Linked DNA regions of Homo sapiens: all the other regions are linked to region 2. Evidence: promoter capture Hi-C in human tissues and cell types (Jung and others, 2019). All regions are on one chromosome and are shown on one strand. The core of a region is centred on a gene start or on the middle of the fragment in contact, and the rest is flanking DNA. Distances in the headings are between cores, read along the strand shown.

What was found. The method cuts DNA at HindIII sites, captures the fragments that hold promoters and counts their contacts. A contact is called where the count stands out against the background at its distance.
Region 1: a contact is called between a fragment that was not itself captured here and the fragment with the promoter of LHX5 in region 2, in 1 of the 25 tissues and cell types used here (H1 embryonic stem cells).
Region 3: a contact is called between a fragment that was not itself captured here and the fragment with the promoter of LHX5 in region 2, in 1 of the 25 tissues and cell types used here (stomach).

Annotation. Positions count from the first base shown.
Region 1 is chr12:113,642,702-113,646,719 of GRCh38, forward strand. LOC105369990 (a long non-coding RNA gene) reads left to right here. Exons shown (of 4, transcript XR_945348.1): 2 at 484-599; 3 at 1,303-1,393; 4 at 1,774-1,814. Among named protein-coding and RNA genes, the nearest start is that of LINC01234, 130 kb to the right of the region's middle. The HindIII fragment of the contact is 7,423 bases long and covers 1-4,018 here.
Region 2 is chr12:113,470,447-113,473,991 of GRCh38, forward strand. It overlaps LHX5 (LIM homeobox 5), which reads right to left and starts at 1,425. Exons shown (of 5, transcript NM_022363.3): 1 at 880-1,425. The coding sequence starts at 1,052. It overlaps LHX5-AS1 (LHX5 antisense RNA 1), which reads left to right and starts at 1,557. Exons shown (of 2, transcript NR_126425.1): 1 at 1,557-1,636. RefSeq lists an enhancer at 507-1,307. The HindIII fragment of the contact is 9,096 bases long and covers 1-3,545 here.
Region 3 is chr12:113,616,673-113,620,212 of GRCh38, forward strand. No RefSeq gene overlaps it. Among named protein-coding and RNA genes, the nearest start is that of LHX5-AS1, 150 kb to the left of the region's middle. The HindIII fragment of the contact is 6,396 bases long and covers 1-3,540 here.

The DNA of each region.
Region 1 (4,018 bases), core at 914-3,413, 170 kb after region 2:
TCCCTTGCTCCCTCCCCCTCCCTCCCTTCTTTCCTTCCTTCCTTCCTCCCCTTCCTCCCTCCTTCCTTCTTTCCCTTCTTCCTTCCCTCCCTCAAACAGTAGACCTTGAGTTTCAGGACATGGTTTTAGTTGTTACCTGGTTCGAGCCTGGCTTTTGCAGGCTGTGTGACACTGGGTAAGTGGCTTCACCTCTCTGAGCCTCAGTTTCCCCATCTATAAAATGGAGACAGTAACAGAGCCCACTTCCAGCTGTATTATGAAAACTAGATGAAGAAATTAATGAACGTGCTTGGCACATAGTAAGGGTGGAATCATTGCTGCCTGTTATTTTTCTAAATTATTATTTATTGCATGCATCTCATGTACCAGTGGGGCACAGAGACGAATCGCACAGCCTGTGCCCCCAAAAGTGCTCACTGACATGACAGCTCTCATAAGCAACCCCAAGTTATGTTTTTAAAATAGTATTTTATGTCTGGGCAGGAATACAGATATGTTCACAGCGCTCAAAAGAAAGGTGATACTGAACTTATGAAGCAGATAAATTAGGGGTGATTATTCTCATTACAAAAGGATACGCTACAGGGATTCTTTAAGTGGTAAGTCCTCTAATACTGGAAGCGTGGAAGCCTTAGCTGGAGCTCTCTCTGCCCTGGCTCCCCCACAGAGCAGTTAATGGTGGTGAAATGAGAGAGCCTGGCCTGAGACAGGAACTCCAAATTTGCACCTCATCACTGACTGATCAGGCAGCCTGGGGCAGGCAGTGTCCCCTCTTGGACTCTCAGTTTCCCCAATGACTGGACGACTGGATGGGATTGCATCTCTGCAGCGTCCCCATCCCCGTCTGAGCCCAGATGACAGCTTTGCTACTGGCCTCTCTGCTTCCACTCCTCCCCCAATCCCTTCTCCATATCACAGCTGCAGGGATCTTCTAAAAGCCCAAATCAGTTTCCCCTACATAAAACCCTCCAGTGGCTTCCCCTAACCCTCAGGACCTTACCCTCGCTTCCAGCCCAGCTGATCTCATCTGTTCCCCTTTCCACCTTGCTCCTGCACCTCTAGCCTCGCCAGTGCATTCCTACCCCAGGGCCTTTGCACTTGCTGGTCCTTCCTGGAACTTTGCCTCAGGCCCCTTTTCTTGTTACTAAGTTTCTAGTTGAAATGTCACCATCTTAGGATCCCCCATCTAATAAATATCTAGTACTCACTGGATCATTTTTGTTTTATCTTTATTATCTTAATTGTACTTGGCACTGATATGATCATGTGTCTTTGCTTCTTTAATGTCTTTCATCTACCAAGAATGTTAGCCAAGGACAGAGACTGGGTCTGTCTTCACTGTTGGCTTCTCAGCCCCTTACATGGGAACTGGCACTTAGGAGGGGCTCAGCAGGTATGTGCTGAAGTCATCATTGGACTTCGATGTTTCAATATACTCATTTTAGGTGTGTTTAAGTTTTGTGCAAAGGAGTGAGTGATTGGTTTCCTAACTTTTGGAAAGTAAAGATGATGTGAATCCAGTCATATAGGACCGTCTCCCTGATGCACCTGCGGTCAGGCTGGTGCTGTCTTGGGTCGAAAGCAAAGGAGTGGACTCAGAACCAGCCCCGAGGGGACATGTTACCCCTGGGTGCAAATAGCATCAGGATCTGGGGCTGCTCACCACAGATACCATGATGGAAAAGGTCACCGGCAACTGGCCTGCATGGTTTTCATGTCTTGGCCACGTGGTTCTTTAATTATTTTTATTTTCATTTATTTATTTTGAGACAGGTTCTCTCTCTGTCACCCAGGCTGGAGTGTAGTGACTCAATCATAGCTCACTGCGGCCTCAAACTCCTAGACTCAAGTGATCCTCCCACCTCAGCCTCCCAAGTAGATGGAACTACAGGTATGTGCCATCACACTTAGCTAAGTTTTATTTTTATTTTAAAAATTATTACTATTATTATTATTGTATTTTTTTTGTAGAGACAGGGTTTCACCATGTTGCCAGGCTGGTCTCAAACTCCTGGGCTTAAGGGATCCACCTGCCTCAGCCTCCCAAAGTGCTGGAGTTACAGGCGTGAGCCATCACTCCCAGCCTTTATTTTAATTTTTTTGTAGAGACAAGATCTCACAATGTTGCCCAAGCTTGTCTTGAACTCCTGGCCTCAAATGATCCTCCTGCTTCAGCCTCCTGAGTTGCTGGGATTACAGGCGTGAGCCGCTGCACCCAGCTTTAGTCAACCAAGACAGCAGCAATGCAAAACAAAATGAAGGCGCTCAGAGAGACACAGGGGACATGCCGAGGAGCCCTGGAGGAAGGGGAGAATTATTCTGATGGGAGAGATCTGGAAGGACGAGGCTGGAGTGAGATGGAATGGTGGAACAGCAGGCAGGGGATTGGGCTTGCTGGTACCTGGTTCTGGGAGTGGGGGCTGGGTCTTTTCTTTCAGGTTCCTCTCGTTTGGAATTGATTCTGATGCTCCTAAAAGATGGTTCACCTGATCCCCTTGAAATGATCATACTGAAGTAGGTGCCAGAGGGGACCAATAGTTACCAAGAACTTACCATGTGCTGGACCTACATAAAATATTTCACTTGTGCTGCTTGACTTAATCTTCACATTGGCTGATGCCAGCCAAGTGATGGTATCCTAATTTCAGGGATTCGGAAACAGGCCCAGAGAGGTTGTGACTTTTCTAAGCACACACAGCAAATAAATGCTGAGGCTGGGATTTGAACTCAAGTCTGCCTGGTTTTGGAGCCAGTGCTTGCCGGAGACATCAAGATGCCTCCTGAATTCAAGAAGGGAGGAAGGGTGATGCTGGGTGCTGTGAGAGCAGGGATAAGATTTAGGAGCAGAAGGTACAGTGAAGAGGGGGCCATAGGTGGGGGTTCAGAGGTGGAAGGGAAGAACATTCTGGTCCCAGAGAAGACTCCTGCCTCCAAGCTCCCGGCCCCACTCTACCCAGCCCTCTCTGCCCCTGGCCCGGAGCAGCCCCGGGTGGGGGACGTGGGGAGGAGAACTAAGCATCATGTAATTGCCCTGGCTCTTCTGTGAAATTTGTTTCGGGACACATTAGTTCCAGTGAATTTAGCCGAACAGCGGGGAGCCCTGAGAAATGATTTGCAATTAGCCGCAGCCCCATGGCCCCCCATTGGGATGCGAGGCTTGGGCACTGAGTGGGGAATGGCCAAGGGGATGGAGCCGCCACCCAGTGCCCGTGGAAACGCCAGCAAGCAGGCAGGAGTGGCTGAACTGGTGCATTTCAGACCCGACGTCTCTCTGAGCCTGGCAGAGGCTGACAGGGGCTGAAGTAGAAGCATTTGACCCCCAAACTATCAAGGCCAAGACTTAGCCAGGCCAGAGGGGCATTCGAAATGATCAAATCCAATTCTCCTGCTTTGCAGAGGGGATGCGGGAGGTGAGCATTGCACATGTTCGCCTCTGTGGGGACGGCTCCTGGAGCATCTCCTTGTGATCACTGTGCCGGGTACTTCTCTAATCATAAATCCTCCCCAACAGTTGGGGAGGCAGGGAGATGATGCCCATTTTGCAGGGAAGGAAATGGATGCCCAGAGAGATGAAGGGAATCTTGCCAGGTTAACTGGAATGTGGCAGGAGGAGGACTTGAATCCTGGCCTCTTGGACTCTCCATGTCGTTACAGCTGCTTCCTTTGATGGCCTCTAAGTGGAGGCAGAATGGCAGTCATTAGGGCCCTGAAGCCAGGCACACCTGGCACAAGTCTCAGCTCTACCACTTTCTGGCCTTGTCACCTTGCACAGGTCACTTCTGCTCTCTGAGACTGTTTCCTCATCTGAAAAATAAGAATACGCTACCCATATCATGGTGTATCTTCTAGGATTAAATGAGAATATAAAATGTTATGGCAACGGGAAGAGCTCAATCAGTAACCGCCATTACTATTACTATCATTGATTGATTGATTGACTGATTGGAGACAGGGTCTCACCCTGTCACCCAATCTAGAGAGCAGTGGTGCAATCATAGCTCATTGCAGCTTCAAACTC
Region 2 (3,545 bases), core at 175-2,674:
TAAAGGAGCGGCTGACATTTTCTCCCATTCAAATTCTCAGTGCGGAGTCGCTGGGGCCGGCAGGCTGCCTTTCTCTGTGGCGTGATTCACGCCCCCATTCCTCAGCGCGGGGAATTCCTGTTCACAAAGCCGGCTCTGGGTGCCCAGAGGAAACAGGTAGGGCTCAGCTGCCCCAAACTCCAGTGGCTTCCAGGCTGGGGAAACTGAGGCCCAGAGAGGTGATCTGCCCTGGCCAGCCACAGGGCCCACAGGGGTAGGGGGGCTGGGGAGGTGCCACAGCCCAGTCTAGACCCCAGAGGTCCTGATTCTCAGCCTCGATTTCGTTTCTACTTTTCAACATGGGAGGAAATGTTTAAGGGGTTGGGAGGTGGGTGGGGGAGGTTCTCTCCTCCCATCACCAGGGGAGACCTTCCTCGCTGGGCCCCCTCTGGAGCTGAGAAGTTTCTGTTTGGGATTGCGGCCGATGGGCTCACACATTCTGCCTGGAGCGAGAAGCCTTCAGGCGTCTCTAACTCATGCAAAAATCCTTCCTCTCTCTCGGGACGGGGCTTGAAGCTTCTGTCTTGGGGTTGCAGCTGCTTGGAAGGGGCGGAGAGGAGTGGATAGCAAGTTTGTCAGGGCTTCCTCCCTCTGCCCCGCCAGCGCTCTGAGCCGGCCTCGAGCCAACGTGAGGCAGCGAAGCAGCGTCCTTCTTCCTCCGCCTGGGCTCGGGACCTTTCCTGGACCAAGGACAGGAGGAGAGCAAAGTGCTGCCCGCTCCCCATCTAAGCTTGTGATCCGGGGAGGCTGGGATGGGGATGGGGGTATCCCCTTCCCCAGCGCCCCAGTGGAGCGCGCGCAGGGTGGGCGCGCAGGCAGCAGAGCGGCGCGGCCTCTTACCTGAAAAAGTCATTTTTGCAGTAGAGCTTGCCCTCGCGCGAGAAGCACTTCTCCGAGAGGTTGGTTTTGCACTCGCAGCACTGAACACATTTGATGTGCCACGCGCGGTCCAGCACGTTCAGCAGAAAGCGGTCGAGGATGGGCCGCTCGCAACCGGCGCAGTGCACCATCATAGCCCCGCGCCCCGGCGGCTTCGGCCGCCTTGCCCTCCCTTTGGGCCCCTGGCCCTCGGGCCTGCCGGGCCCTCCGCTGCCCTTCGCCTCTTGTCTCAGCAGCTGCAGGGCGAGTCTGGTCCGGACCAAGACTCAGCCGGTCCAGTCCTTGGGCAATCTCTGGCCTGGCGCTGGGCTGCCCGGAGTGGGGTGGTGGGGGGCGGGTGGCGTTCACAACCTCATGCCACGGGCCGCACGCCCCGGCGCCTGTTCCGGGCTTCCCCAGGTATCTCGGGTGGCTGCTGGCCTCGGCGCTGCGGAGCGGCTTTCCCCGGTGGCGGAGGCGCCGGCACTTTCCCCCACTTTCAAGCGGTCCGGATCCTCATCTTTGTCTGGTCGCCGCGTAATTCGCGCATCCTTATTCAGATTTGGTGACGTGGCGCTGCACGTAGGGGGCCCAGCGGCCAATGGGCGCACCGTGGCCATGGCAACCTCTTAAATTTATAGCATATCTAAATTGGCTACAGCGTTGCTGTCCGGACAGAGCAAAAAAAACAAGGCATCAGTATTGTTGAGTATTAGCTTGTACCTGGTTCGGAGGCTAAGTAAGTATTTACCTTCCAGTTTGGGGCTGACGGGGCGGGGGCAGCGCGAAACGAAAATTGCGTCTCTCTTCCTCTCTCTTTCTCCTCACAAATATTTGGGGGTCACGGGTTCCAAGGCCTAGTCCGGGAGGTACCCCTGCCCCCTTCGCCATCCCTGGAACTTGCAGAAGTTGCCCCACGCCCCACACTTCGCTCCCCTTCTCCAGCCCAGCCAGCCCAGATTGGATTCCCCCACCCCCGCGCCCCCTCTGCGCCCTGAAGCTGCGTCAGCGCGGTTCTCCCGGCTCCTGGAGCCGGCCCCGGCTTCTTTTTGTCATACACGGGGCTGGGGCCCAGCCGGGCCTTTCTCATGGAGAGAGCTAGTGGAGACCGCGCGGCCTGGGTAGTTTTCCCCGCCCGGCCGCCGAGCCCAGGCCCAGGCCCAGGGTGGGGAGGCGGGGGAGCAGGAGGGGTGCCATTTGGCCTGGTCCCGAACTCCAGAGTTTCAGGCCTGAGTGCGCTGCTCACGGGGCTCTGAGGGAGATGTGGACAGGGGGAGATTCAGGGTGGACGGGTCTTCCCGCAGACAGCTCGGAGGTGGCACTCACCACGTCTCTCCTTTCCTCGCTGCACCTTCCAGATTCCAGGTCAGCCTATGGGGCACTGTGGTGAGTGGGTCGTACGGCTGAGGCGGGGGACACCAGCGACTATGAGAGCGCTGTTTGTATTCACGCCGTGCGGGCTGGGTGTGCAAGTTCGTCCCCTCATTGGGCGCAGGAGAAGCGGCGCACGTATGTTCCGTGCTCGGCAGGGCGCCCAGAGTGTGAGGAGAGAGAGTGTGTGTGTGTTAAGGGGGAGGGGGGATGTTGGCAGGTGTGCGTGAGGAGGGGGTGTGTGGGTCTGAGTAGGAGAAGGGACCAGGCCTCCTTTCCCCTGGGGCCAGCGTGGCCACCAGGGATCCTAGTTGGGGAAGCCGGGAATGGGCAACCAGGATTTGCCTTTCGCTTCTGGAAAGGGGGCTGAGGGAGTAGGGCCTGGGACCAAGGGCTGGAGCTGGAGGGGTTTGTGCCAGCACTTGGCTGTGAATGTTTGTTTGGGTGTGTTTCCTGAGCTTGTTAGTGTATACTCGCTGTTTGAGAATTCCATTTTTGCATCTGTTTATTGTGTTAGTACCATCAATCCTGTGAGTAAATTTCTGCGTGTGCGTTTTCGTGTGTGCAGATTCGTGTGTTTGTAATTGTGTATGGTCCTGCTAATGTTTGTGTTTATCACTGTGTGCACTTTTATTTTTGTTGGTCTGTGCCTATGTGTGTTTGCTTATTTGAGGATGCATAAATGTGAGGGTGTTTTCATGTGTACGTGTGCATTCACGTAAGAGTGTTTGTGTCTGTGTTTGCAAGCATTGATGTGAAGGTGTACTTTGAAAAATCTGAATGTGTGTGTTTGTGTGTAGGTGAGGGCGTGCATGCTTGAGACCCTGTGTGTATGAGACTGAGCTGGCTTGGTTGTGTTTGTGAGTGCAGAATTCTGAAGAGCTATGTTTGTGTGCCAGTCGCTGTGTGTGTGTGCCTGCAAATGTGTGTATTTGTGCAAACAGTAGTTTTTTGTTTATGCAACTCCTGTAGGCTTTTGTGTGTGTGTGTGTATGTGTGTGTGAGGGGGTTATGTTTGTATTTGTGTTTGTGTGTGTACTCCTAGCTGCGCTTACCTTTGTGGATTCGGAGGTTGAGGGAGCAGGATTTGTGGATGCCTGTGTTGGGGCTCAGGGATGCCCACTTGTCCCCCTTCCTCTCAGGCCTAGCACTGTCCCCCACAGTATCTAGGGGAGGTGATCTTGCTAGGGACAGGGAATTGGTGAGTGCTGGTTACAGAGTGGAGCATTGACTCACCAGCCAGCCCGCTGGAAAAGGAATCCCTAACCCGGGCAGCT
Region 3 (3,540 bases), core at 105-2,604, 150 kb after region 2:
GATGGGGATGCAAGAAGTCAGCCCAGCTGCTGAGAGCATCTCTGTCCTCTCTGTACCTCTCTTGCAGAAGGAAGGCCCCCTCGCCGGCCTTCATTCTGTTCCTTGCATGCCCCAAGCTTCCTCCCGCTGTGGGGTCTTTGTCCTGTGGTTCCTTCTGCCTTGAACACTGTCCTCTGAGATCATTGCTGGCTCCTTCACATCATGTGAGTCTCTGCTCAAATGTCATCCTCTCAGATCAGTGAATCCAAAGTCATCTCCCAGCCAGTCACTTCCTAGAACATCCCCTTTCCACTTCCTTTGTAGCCCTCAGCACTATCTGCAGGGACCTCCCTCATTTTCTGTGTGACTTTGGGCAGTTTCTTAACCTCTCTGTGTCACATTTTTCTTATCTGTAAAATGGTCATACTAGTACCCATCTCATGAGATTGTAATACTGATTAAGTGAGATGATGTATGTAAAGTGCTCAGAACACTGCCTGGTATGGAGTAAGCAGTATAGAAGTGTTAACAATTATTATTATTATTATTATTATTATTATTGTGTTTGATCCATTGTCCTCCACCCCCAACTAGAACATCATCTTAATGAGGACACATACTTTGTCTGTCTTGTATTCTAATGCCTGGTACAGGGCTTGGTTCATTGTAGGTGCCCAAGAAATATTTTTTGAGTGAATGAATGAATGAATGAATTTCTAAAAGAAACTAAGCCACAGTTTTAATGAAACCAGGCAATGGGTATTAAAAGCATTGGGGTTTGGGTAGGCTCTTGGATACATACATGGAGGTAGGCACAGTGAAGGCAGGAAGCTGAGGCACCTCCAGATGCCTGTCCCCGGGGCTGGGCCCTTCTTTCAGGTAAGGGGGCAGGAGGAGGAAGGGGCTTTCAGGAACATGGCGGGAGGTGCAATGCAGATTTGGAGGGGGTTCTGATGGGGCTGCATAGTTCCCCCCTGTTCTAGGAGCATTTGCTGTCTCAGGCATGCAGTGGATCTATGATCTGGAAGGGACTCCAGAAGGAGAGAAGTGAACTCAGGAACCTGTTTATCCTCTGCCCACCTGCCATCTTGCAGAAGAGGAGGCTGAAGTCCAGCCCCAGGATTAACACAGCATCCTGGCAGCAGGGCTGGCTCAGTCCTTCCCTGGCCCCACATCTCTGGTGTGCCTGGTCTTCATACAGCATTGGTACCTTCCCAGAATTGAGCTCCTCCCTTTTCACCCTGGTCGTGGGTAGTTTAGGGGTCTATTTGGAAGATGAGACCTGAGGCTCTGTACAGGAAGCCCCGTGGTCCCTGAAAGGCCAAACCTTGGACTCCCGGAAGATCTTCTCAAGTGCTGGAATCCATCTGCTGACATCTGTCCTCCGGGCCTTCACTGTGACCAGACTCCAGGAGACAGCAATGGGGCAGGGCCTGGAGTGGGAGGGGCCTGTGCCAGCCCAGGTCACAGGCCGTAACGGTGATGACCCCTCTGCTCCAAGTGACAATAGCAGCAACAGTAACAACATAACAGCACTGATTTAAAAATTCATAATACTGGGCCAGGCATAGTGGCTCACACCCATAATCCCAGCATTTTGGGAGGCTGAAGCAGGAGGATCACTTGAGCCCAGAAGATCAAGGCCAGCCTGGGCAACATAGTGAGACCCCTTTTCTAAAAAATTTTAAAAATTAGCCAGGTGTGGTGCTGTGCACCTGTAGTCTTAGCTACTCATGAGGCTGGGGTGGGAGGATTGCTGGAGCCCAGGCGGTCGAGGCTGTAGTGAGCACTGTTTGTGCCACTGCATTCCAGCCTGGGCAACAAAATAAGATCCTGTCTCAAAAAAAAAAAAAAAAAAGATATTTACTGAGCACTTACACTGTGCCTGGCACTGTCCTCAGGGCTTTAAAATATTACTCATTTATTTCTCACAAAACGTATGACATGTATGTTAGATAAGAGAATCGTGGCAAAGTCAAAGTCCCTGAATTGGATAATTACATGGGGGTGATGTTGTGATTAGGAAATGCACCCTAAGAACTTCATGGTGAGATGGTACAAGGCTACAACTTGCGAATGGCTCAACAAAATGAAGTAGATAGGTATGCAGATAGATGAATTCATATGGAGACATATGTGTCAACATATTAGCAATTGGGGAATACAGATAAGAATATACAAGTGTTCATGGATCTTGCAACTTTTTTATAGGTTTTAAAAATTTTTTAATAAAAAGGAAAACCAAAAATGTAAGGGCAACACTAATATTGTCCCCATTTTACAGATGGGGGAACTGAGGCACAGAGAAGTTAGCGCCCGTAGTAGATGCTTTAGAAATATCAGCTGTTTTATTATTTACATATGATGAGGCCAAGGCTCAGAGACACTCTGTAACCTGTCCACCATCGCACAGCAAGAAAGTGGGTGTTTGCCTTTGAAGGGTCCTATCTCTCTGACCTGCTAAGGTTACGTGGACCCCAGGCTGGCTTGGCTGGGGTAGGGGCGAGTGAGTGGACTCTCCCCATGCCTTCAGATCAGGCCCCTAGTGTCCTCCCAGCCTTCTCGGGCCCCTTAAGACAGGGCGAATCTTTGTGGAGCTCCCTTTCCTCCCTCTCTCCTTGCCCCTGCAGGAACCTCTCCTGGGAACCCTTACAGCTCTCCCTGATCTCCCCCATCCTCTGTGCACCAGCAGCCCCATCAGAGGGGCCTGGCAGGGTGGGGATATTTGCCAGCAAATACAAGCTATGTGTTAAACACTCCGCCAGCAGCTTCTCCACACCCGGCAATGTTTGCTCAGCAAACATCACTAATTTTCTGGTTTCTTGGGCTGTGCTGGAGCCCCTAGAGCAAAGCCTGTTTTTCATCAGCTCCTCTGACAGTTCCCTGTCCCCATGGCCACCAACCAGGCTCCGGGGCACAGAGTTGAGACCTCCTCCCAACACAAAGTCCCAAGAAGATCTGTGGGGAGAGAGAAGGCTTCTCTGGTTTTCTGGGACAGCATCTTTAACCAGAATTCCTCTAGTGCTGGGATTCTGGGATGTAGGAGAGGGGCTTCAATTATTTCTTGACTTTGAGTGTGTTTGGGGAGTTCTTTTCCTCTCTTCTGGTCTCTCTCCCATCCATCCTCCAAGATTCAGGAAGCCAGTTTATTCCAGTTCATATTCATCCGTCCATCCATCCACCCATCCATCCATCCAACCATACATACATACATTCAGGTTTTTTTTGAGCACCCATTTTGTGTCAGGGAGGGCTGGGTGCTGGAGAAACAGCAGTGCATATGACCAACCTGACCAGCATGATTTCTTGCCCTCCTGAAGCTGACATAATACAGCGGTTAGAGGCCAGACGCAGCGGCTCATGCCTATAATCCCAGCACTTTGGGAGGCTGAGGTAGGTGGATCACCTGAGGTCAGGAGTTCAAGACTAGCTTGCCAACATGACAGAGGGAAACCCCTTCTCTACTAAAAATACAAAAATTTGCTGGGAGTGGTGGTGGGTGCCTGTAATACCAGCTACTTAGGAGGCTGAGGCAGGAGAATTGCTTGAACCCAGGAGGCA